Regions from separate parts of the Homo sapiens genome. Here region 1 is linked to region 2. Evidence: promoter capture Hi-C in 16 types of primary human blood cells and fetal thymus (Javierre and others, 2016). All regions are on one chromosome and are shown on one strand. Each heading gives the region's core, a stretch centred on a gene start or on the middle of the fragment in contact. The rest is flanking DNA. Distances are from core to core; before and after follow the strand shown. Region 1 holds the start of KRTAP6-3 (keratin associated protein 6-3). Region 2 holds the start of KRTAP19-6 (keratin associated protein 19-6).

Region 1 (5,020 bases), core at 510-3,009, 51 kb before region 2:
AAAGCAATTGCAACAAAAACAGAAGTGGACCTAATTAAACTAAAGTGCTTCTGCACAGCAAAAGAAACTGTCTACAGAGTAAACATATAGCTACAGAATGGGAGGAATTATTTACAAACTCTGCATCCAACAAAAGTCTAATATCCAGAATCCATAGGGATCCTAAGCAAATCAACAAGCAAAAACCAAATAACCCCTTTAAACATGGGCAAAAGGCATGAGCAGGCACTTCTCAAAAGACTATAAAATCAGCCAACAAATATATTTTTATATATTTGTTATATACAACAAATACATATATAAATTATATATGTGTTACATATATATTTGTCATATATTTGTTATATATAACAAATATATATGTTAATGCATAACATTAGTGACCAGTCAAAATAGTTACTATTAAAAAAGTCAAAAACTAAAACGTGTTGGTGAGGTTGTGGAGAAAAGAGAATGCTTATACACTGGTGATGAGAATATTAAATTATTCCAGTCACTCTGGAAAGCATCTGGAGATTTCTCAAAGAACTTAAAGCAGAACTACCATTTGACCCAGCAATCCCATTACTGGGTATATACCCAAAGAAAAAAAAATTGTTCTACCAAAAAGAAACATGCACTTGTCTGTTCATCGCTGTGCTATTCACAAGAGCAAAGACATGGAATCAACCCAGATGTCTAACAATAGTTGACAAAAGATAATGTGTTTCATGTGCACCATGGAATACTATGTAGCCACAACAAAGAGTGGAAATCATATTCTTTGCAGCACCATGGATGCAGCTGGAGGTGATTATCCTAAGCACATTAATGCAGGAACAGAAAATCAAATACCACAGGTTTTCACTTATAAGTAGGAGCTAAAAATTGAGTGCACATGTATATAAACATGAAAGCAATAGACACTGGGACTCTTGGAGTGGGGATGGTGGGGGGTGGTAAGGGTTGAAAAACTACCTTTCACATATTACCTCAGTGGCATGCAATTCACCCATGTAACAAATATACACATATAACCCTTGAACCTAAAATAAGAGTTGAAAAAAATAACGATAAAAGCAAAAAATCAAAGAAAAAAATTTTGGACAATAAATAAGATACAAACACCAAGATTTCTCTTGTGGATTAAATGTGTTTATTAGGTCAGCAGAGAAACAAACTACAGCATGAAAGTCATCAAAGGAGTCACTGTGACACCATCATCCTGATAAAAGGAGAAGTGACAGGTGAACTTCACCTTATCCCACTTCATGATGGAAACTCAGGGTATTTTTGGGTTAGATGGTAGATCAACAACAGATCATATTAGACTTCCACTGCAGGATATCATCAATCAAGGGAAAGGCTCAGAGCATGTGGGCTTCAGAATTGGTGAATTGCAATGTCACAGGATAGAGGGTGAGAGTCTCCCATGGTGTCCTCAATAGTAGTAGCCAAAGCTGGAGCCATAGCCAGAGCCGCACCTATAGCCACAGCCACAGAAGGAGTGGGAGACATAGCCATAGCCACAGCCATAGCCACAGTCCAGGCCTCTGTAGCCACAGCCACAGAAGGAGCCATAGCCACAGCCCAGGCCTCCATAGCCACAGTCCAGGCCTCCATAGCCAAAGCCCAGGCCTCCGTAGCCACAGCACCCATAGCCACAGCCGCCATAACCACAGCCCAGGCCTCCGTAGCCACAGCACCCATAGCCATGGCCACCATTGTAGTTTCTGTAGTAGCTGCCACACATGGTGTTGGTTGTTGAGGTCATCCTTGGGTAGGAAGGAGTGTAGGTGACTTCAGTATGGACACTTCTCCGCAGAGGGCCTTTTATATGCCTCAGTGAATCAGAACATAGCGTGCCCCTGCAAAAATATCTCTAAAGGCCTTTCATTGTGCTGAGAAGTTCTGGCCCTTACGTATCTCTCTGATTTCATATCCTGCTACTCTCCTCCATTTATCTATAATGCTCAAACTCTGCTGGCTTTTTGTCTTTTAAAATGCAGCAGGTTTCTTCTCACAATAAGGCCCTGGCCTCTGCACTTACTGATTTCTCTTTCTTAAAATAATACCAGGAATATTTGACTCATTTTCTATTTCAATTGAAATGTTCACTTCCCAGAGAGACTTTTAATGGCCACCTTATATTAATTAGTCTACCTCCAGTAACTGAACTTAATGTAACTCACTGAGTTTTATTATTCTCACAGGATTCTTCACTGTTAGAATCTATTTCATTCATTTTTAAAATCAGTCTCTCTATCCCTTCTGTCTCATTGTAACCTGCAGAAAGTAGAGACTTTGTCTATTTTGTTCATCTGCTCAATCTGCATTTCTTATAACGGTGCCTGATACAGCAGATTCTTAATAAAGATTTGATGAATTAGTGAAAAAATAACCAAATGAATGACATGATGCAACTTTCTATACTCAAATTCTGTGTAGAATAATCACAATCTTTGTTCTATGCTTGGGGTAACTGGGGATAAATTCATGTACTCTGGGATCCTTTTGGATCATATGCAAACCAGTGGAGGAATTTATCATGGTGATTTTTTTCTGGTTTGAGAATCCATGCCTTTTCCGATTGTTAAGGTGGTGGTATATATCCACTAAAGTTTATGAACTACTGTGTGCAGTTCCGAAATTCTGACTAAATGTTCTACTTGCCTCTTATTGATATGATACTTTGCCAGTCTCACATTGATCTACAAAGTATGATCCCTAGGTTGATCATTGGTAGTTCTGCTACATTTAAGAGTAGCAAATGAATTAATATGTACTATTATTTGTTTATATTTTATTCTAATTGCTTTATCATAATAAATGACTAATAATTCATTAATAATATTTAATAAGTGGATGGAATAAACGTGACAAATTATCACAGGGAGCTTCATAGAAAGTCAGCTCTCATAATTAAGGCTATCACCAGAATGCATTTGGGCCAGAAATGTGGTTTGCTGATGTTATTCTATCCAAGTCACCACTTTAAAAAATAGTAACAGGAATTCTGCTAGAAGATGAAAAGTATTTTTACAATACTTTTGGAAATTTGGAATTAATATATTTTAAAATAAGCAAATTCATTAAATATAAAAAGAAGGTAAAATATGTGAATATTATGTGTCAGGAGAGGAAAACATGAATTTTGAGATACGGTGGGTAATTGTTTCTAATTGCTTTCTCAGATGCAAAGAGAACACCACAACTAATAATATAACCAAAGTGAGGATGATGGAAGAGAAAAAACTTTACTACTCCAAGAACATAAGCTACATATGAACTTGGAAGAAAATTTTTAGTCCCATTGATTAAGAAATAAATTAGTCAAAACATACAGGCATATTTGCAAGTAAATAAAGACATTTTCATCGGCTTCCTCACTGCATAGCCAACCTTCCCTAACCATTCCTGGCCACTCTGTGGTTTAAGGACTGCATTTATGGAGGTAGAGGAGGATATTGAAAAAGAAAAAAGAAATGTTTCAAGAGGCAGGAAATATAAGCTTAATGTGATCACAGAGAAGCTAATCATCAAGTTTAAATTGGGATTTTAAGTAAGCAAAAGCCACAAAATTAAGAGAATATCTCCTTAAGGCTCATGATTTTACTTGTTGGCATCCTGACACATAGCAATATTAATATTTTCCTGGACATATGGCTAAGAGATTCTTGAGGGTTTTTTTAATCTTAATGCAAATTAGTTGTGAGAATGAGTCCAATGTAGATTGTGGTTTCCTTCACATATAACTCAGGTTGGATAAAATAATTTGTACAAATCAGGAGAGTCAAATTTCAGAAACTACTATCTGCCTCAATTGAACTCCATCTTCTGACACCATGTGCTACTACCACAACTATTATGGTAGCCTGGACTATGGTTGCAGCTATGGCTCTGAATATGGTAACTCTGGATATGCCTGCAACTTTCCGTGCTCCTATGGAAGATTCCTATTGGCTCCTAGAAAGAAATTCTGATTGCTGATCACTTTGAGCCATTTTCTTGTGATGCACTAATTGCATCAACAGGGTTATTTATGGATTCGTTATTGTCTCTCCAATTTTAACTAACTCTAATTATTGATTACCACAGGTCATATTTGCATTGGATTAGTGGAATTTCCTACCAGTTAGTGGGAAAATCCTTTGATATTTTGTTAGTTTTATGTGTTTATGTCTGTTATAATATTAACAATTTCCATGCAGGAAAACTTATAAATTTGCATTTTAATAAATATAATCACTTTCACAATATGTATTGCTTATCATATATATTCATTTCTCTTTATCATTTGTGTATTTGTGTGTGTGTGTGTGTGTGTGTGTGTGTGTGAAAGAGAGAGAGAGAGAGAAAGGGAGAAATAGAAAGAGAGAGTGAAATTGCTACCTGTGGCTATTTTAGTCAGTGATGTGACAAAACAGGCAACTCATGACTGATGTTTTTCCAAAAATGTTTGTATAAAAGTAATTTCAAGTTCAGTTTCAAGAATACTGTTCTCTATATTGATCTAATGCAAGTTTCATTTTAGAAAAATTCAATGTTTGACCTAGGTAATTGGCAAAACCAGTAGCACTATTACCCACCAAGCTATTTTCTACTGCAATTTTCTCTCTCCTAATAGTCTACATTTAAACATGTGCTTCTGTACTGATACAACTCCAGCCCTGCATTGAGTACTCTGACCTCTTTTCACTCACTCTTATAGATAAGAATCCTCTATATGAAGCTGGTTGGTATGCCTGATAATCCTGTGTTTCCACAGCAAAGATCACCTCATTTAGAGATCTAAGTGACTCTTTTGAGTTTTTCTAACTCTGATCATCTTCTAGCAGAATTCCTGTTACTATTTTTTAAAGTGGTGACTTGGATAGAATAACATCTTGCAAACCACATTTCTGGCCCAAATGCATTCTGGTGATAGGTCTTAATTATGAGAGCTGACTTTCTATGAAACTCCCTGTGATAATTTATCATGTTTATTCCATCCACTTATTAAATATTATTAATGATTAGTCATTAATTATGATAAAGCAAT
Region 2 (5,475 bases), core at 610-3,109:
GGAAGCAATCAACAAAATGAAGAGACAACCCACAGAATGGAAGAAAATATTTGTAAACTATGCATCTGACAAGGGATTAATAACCAGAATATATAAGGAGCTCAAACAAATCTGTACGGAAAAAAAAAATCTAATAATCTGATTAGAAATGGACAAAAGAACCAAATAGATGTTTTGGAATCCTCATTCGCTATTAGTGGGGATGGAAATTAGTACAACCACTATGGAGAACAGTTTGGAGGTTTCTCAAAAAACAAAGAATGAAGCTACCATATGACACAGAAATCCCACTGCTGGTGCTAAACTCATCTTTAGCATCAAACCTAATCTCTAGTCCCTGACACCATGAGCTACTACAGCAGCTACTATGGAGGCCTGGTATACATCCAAAGGAAGGGAAAACAGTATATCAAAGAGATATGTGCACTCCCATGTTTGTTGCAGCACTGTTCATAATAGCAAAGATTTGGAAGCAACCTAATTTTCCACCAACAGATGAATGGATAAAGAAAATGTGGTATGTATACACAATGGAGTACTAGTCAACCATAAAAAATAATGAGATCCTGTCATTTGCAACAGAATGGATGGAACTGGTCGTCATTATGCTAAGTGAAATAAGTCAGGCACAGAAAAACAAACTTTGTATGTTCTCACTTATTTGTGGGAGCTAAAAATTGAAAACAATTGAACTCATGGAGATAGAGACTAGAAGGATGGTTAACAGAGAATGGAAAGGGGAGTAGGTGGGTGCAGGGTAGGGGTGGGGAGGGATGTGAGTGATGGAGGAGTAGGGGTGGTTAATGGGTACAAAGGAATAGAAATGATGAATAAGACCTAGTATTTGATAGCACAAAAGTGTGGCCATACTAAGTTATACTCTCTTAGTTATTTTAAAATGTATAATTAAATTGCATTTAAATTAAATTATTGATTTAATCGAACATTTTAAAATAAGAGAGTGTAATTGAATTGCTTTAACACAAAGGATAAATGCTTGAGGGGATGGATACCCTATTTATCATTTACCAGTGATTATTACTCCATTAACCAGTGATTAGTATGCATTGTCATGTCTGTATAAAAGTATTTCATATACCCCATAGATATATATACTCTACTATGTATTCTTAAAAATAAAATTTGAAAAAAGAAAAATAATATTTAATGGAACTTCATGGGAAAAGTGTATGCAGAGGAAAAGGTACACTTTTGAAGTTAATGGATGAATAAAAAATTGGGAAGAAGCCTAACAAAAAATTGGCAGAGGAAGCTAATTGAAGGTTTCTCATAGAAATTAAGGCAAGAAAGCTTTACAAAAGAATGAATGGATGGAAGGTTAGCAATGTCAAAGGTCAATTAAAGTTCAAATGAGTCAAAAACCAAGGTTTCCTCTAAATTTGACTACTGGAAATCACTAATGACTTTGTGACTATGCCCTGACTACCATGAAGAGAAGTCCTTGGGTTCTGGGAATGAAGTAACCAAGACGATGGACTGCAAATTAAAAAGAAAAGCAATATGAGGTTATGTAATTACAGCGTTACTGGAAGCTATCAACCCGATTAGACCATTTTAATTACAACACCAGCCTGGCCTTTGAAGTGGCTATAATCATTTTTCATCTTCAAAATATTTTGTTCTTAGGAATGCAAACTAAAGACTAAAAGTCTTTAAATAATAGTTTGGACCCTTTGTTACATAAGAAAAGAAAAAAAATAAACAATTGTTAGACTTAAAATTATTCTGTTATGTGGAAATAAGATCACCTGTCATTGTTGTTCATGACACCCACTACTTAGAGTATAAAATCATTCTGAGAAGTTAGAGACACCTACACTCAGGAAACTCATCATTAGCATTGAACTGAATCTCTAGTCCCTGACACCATGAGATACTATGGCAGCTACTACAGAGGCCTGGGATATGGCTGTGGAGGCTTTGGTGGTCTGGGCTATGGCTGTGGCTGTGGAGGCTACAGATATGGCTCTGGCTATGGAGGCTATAGATATGGCTGCTGCCGCCCATCATGCCGTGAAGGATATGGATTCTCTGGATTCTACTAAAAAACTTGCTGATTCTCATACTCTAACTCCAAGATCTTGCCCGTATGCTTCAGCAAGGCGAACACTTTTCTCAATGTAGAGAAAATACCTACCATTTTTTGGCTTCATGCTCCAGAAGGAACTAGCCATCAGTTTTTATGGAAGAATCTGGAATCATTACATTGAATCAGGGTTTCACCTATTATTATTTAGTCACTGACATCTGTTGTGACATGTATTTTAAAATAGTTTTAAATAAACACGTTTAACTTGAATAGCAAACATGGCTTTATCAATTCATTTTAGTACATTTCAAATGCATTGATGAGACTTCAATCAAGCTGTTTGTCTTCTTTCCTCTGAATTGGTGTTTTTATTTCAACAGTTTTGCCTCAATAATATATTTTATTCAACATATATTCATTGTGTGTCTCCAAATTTGGGCACCATTCTAAGTCCTGAAGATATAAAAGAATAAGATGGACAAAATCACTGTGTACTTTCATCTGTCTTTACTTTTTATCTGTTTTCAGTGGTTTTGTGTGTGATTTTGTTTTTAGAATATGATTATGTACACTATTATTTTTATGACTTAGTTTTAAACAATAACTTATTGCAATCTTCATTCCAATTAGTGTGTTTGTATTCTGAGGTTTATCTCAAAGCACAGTAATTCTATGTTAATCAATGAAAGCGAATTTTAAATAAAACATTGAGTTAATATAAATAATATTTGTAATAATACGTAAGGTCTAAAGAATGCTATCAAAGCTCGCATGTACCCAACACTGACTTATCAAATGTATAATGTCCTTTATGTATAATCAATTTTAAACTATTGAACATATGAGAATCTACTCTACCTCCTTGACAAGTTAAATTACTTGTCTTTCTGTGTTCCTACCTGTAGAGTTCAAGCCTTGCTTCCCAAAAGATATTATTTCTCAAAAGTAAACCTGAGGGATGTCTGAATTAAAAACACCGAGAGAGGCCGGGCACGCTGGCTCATGCTTGTAACCCCAGCACTTTGGGAGGCCGAGGCGGGTGGATCACCCAGGGTCAGGAGTTCGAGACCAGCCTGGTCAACATGGTGAAACCCCGTCTCTACTAAAAAAACAAAAATTGGCTGGGTGTGGTGGCACGTGCCTGTGGTCCCAGCTACTTGGGAGGCTGAGGTGGGAGAATCGCTTGAACCTGGGAGGCAGAAGTTGTAGTGGGCCGAGATTATGTCACTACACTCCAGCTTGGGTGACAGAATGAAACTCTGTTTAAAAAAAGAAAAAAGAAAAGAAAAGAAAAGAAAAAAAAAGAAAAGAAAAACCCCATGACAACATTTTTACCAATTTAATTTTTAATTTTCTGGAGGATAACTTAGATAATTAGTTTTCATTAGTTTTGCTATTGGTCTGCTGACTACTCGTCAAAATTTCCTTGAAAATAACTATTCTAGATAGTACTTAAGGTCTCTTAAATTTCTTAAATTTCAGTAATTCTTGACATACATTTCTACTCCTACCATCTTGCCAGTGAACAATGTTTTTGTAGTAGCTTTCAGGTACTTTCCACTCTATGTCATGTAAGAGTTAGCACAAGACGTTATAAACCTGGAAGATGATTTGGAGGAGATTTGATGTAAAAATAACATCTAAATACAAAATAATAAACTAAAATAGTACCATGTTCCTCTAGAGAGTTCATGTTATGTTTATTTCAAATAAGCGATTAATAATGATGGGAATGGTACTGTTCTGTTTATATGTTATTATTTTTTGTTGTTGTTTAACTGCCTTTTTTGCCTATAGGTATGGTCATTTGACAGCATTTTGGAAGCATCTGCCTAATGCTAATTATTCTTTCTAAACTTATTTTTAAAGTTTTATTTTTAATTGACAAATAGCTTTATATGTTTATGAGGGCACAGTGTTATATTTTGTTATATGTTTACATTGCGGAATGATTACACCAAGCTAACTCACAAATCTACTATCTAACATAGTTATTTTTTAGGGTGGTGAAAACATTTAAAATATACTCTCTGATACTTAATTTAACATATACACGCTTGCTAAAATAATTGAGTTGCAAGCAAAATTGCAAATTATGTAGTCTTAAAAAGTTAATTTATAGGATTGAAAATAAAACTGGCAAGTAAATTTCTCATTCATCAACCAGGCTTTATGCTACTGCTGCCTATTTTCTTTCAAGTACAAAGGTAGAGAAATCACCTTGAATAAAATATTATAAAATAAACAGCATATTCTCTAACCCTTTAGATATTGAAGAATGTATGTACTTTTTTAATCAATAGTTAAGTGTGTCAAATTATTGTGAAATAACATGGAAATTTCTTATTGAGAAAATTAGTTTGGAACAACAGCGAGTCATCCCAACTTTATTTTCTAGACTGGGGAAATAAAAAACAGACTTATTAGTGCCCATTTTAGTTAATGATTATAGATTGTAATATGATTATTAGTTTTTGTATGCGATTGTATGGGTTTTGCAGTCAGGATCTTTAGGTATCCCTTGCATTAATATGATGCCAAACACACAGCAGGTGTTCAATGAATATTTGTTAAAAGAAAAAGAAAACATCAATAACATAATAGAATATTGGGATTCAAGGAAGTTATTGATTAGGACTGATTGGGACCTTCAATGACAAAGTTAAAGTACAAGCTGAAAATGGGAAAAACACTGACAAATTGATTTTCAAACCATTTTTACAAACAAAAATATTTTAACTATTATATTTCTGTTTCATAAAAATTCACTTTTGATAGATTCTCTCTAGACACACTTAATTAACTGCAAAGCTATATAAGTCAAAAGCCTCAGTTATTTGCTAATATAACCTTAAAAAATCTCTTGGCCTTTTATAATCTATTATGAACTTTCATAATTCTACTTCCAAATTCTATTTTTATTCTATAGATGAAAAGCATATTTTTAAAATGAAGGAAATCATGTTTTCCAGCAAAAACTCAGAGGCTTGTTGATAAGACAAAGGATGATATACATGTTTTTATAAAACGACTCGTAGAGCTGGGGTTCCATCTGTAGAAAACCTGCAAAGAAAATCTACCTATTCTTAGTGACACTGAATCCTTTTCATTGATTTATATTTGCTTTCACTTAAAACATCCAATAGGTCACAGACAAGTAACACACAAGGATAAAATAACATACCATTCCAGTTACATTTTTCTAAGGAATCAGAAAAAGAGTCTTGTGTTAGAAAAAAAATTATTTTTCTTTGCAGATAATTTTGAAAACTCAGGGTCAGTGTCAAAAAGAGGAATTTTGTGAAACTCATATATCCCTGATATGAGTCAATTAAATATGGAAATTTAATGCTAAATTTAATTCTTTGAGAAGATGTTAATAAATTAAGTGTATTGTGAGCAAAAATAATACAATTTCTTTTTTT

Evidence for each region. The method cuts DNA at HindIII sites, captures the fragments that hold promoters and counts their contacts. A CHiCAGO score of 5 or more calls a contact.
Region 1: a contact is called between the fragment with the promoter of KRTAP6-3 here and the fragment with the promoter of KRTAP19-6 in region 2, in 1 of 17 cell types (neutrophils). The highest score is 5.1, in neutrophils.

What each region holds. Positions count from the first base shown.
Region 1 is chr21:30,589,179-30,594,198 of GRCh38, reverse strand. KRTAP6-3 (keratin associated protein 6-3) reads right to left here and starts at 1,759. Exons shown (of 1, transcript NM_001433434.1): 1 at 1,144-1,759. The coding sequence starts at 1,732. The coding sequence ends at 1,421. KRTAP22-2 (keratin associated protein 22-2) reads left to right here and starts at 3,802. Exons shown (of 1, transcript NM_001164434.1): 1 at 3,802-4,094. The coding sequence starts at 3,825. The coding sequence ends at 3,962. The HindIII fragment of the contact is 10,326 bases long and covers 1-3,492 here.
Region 2 is chr21:30,538,248-30,543,722 of GRCh38, reverse strand. It overlaps KRTAP19-6 (keratin associated protein 19-6), which reads left to right and starts at 1,859. Exons shown (of 1, transcript NM_181612.3): 1 at 1,859-2,188. The coding sequence starts at 1,890. The coding sequence ends at 2,066. The HindIII fragment of the contact is 6,762 bases long and covers 1,314-5,475 here.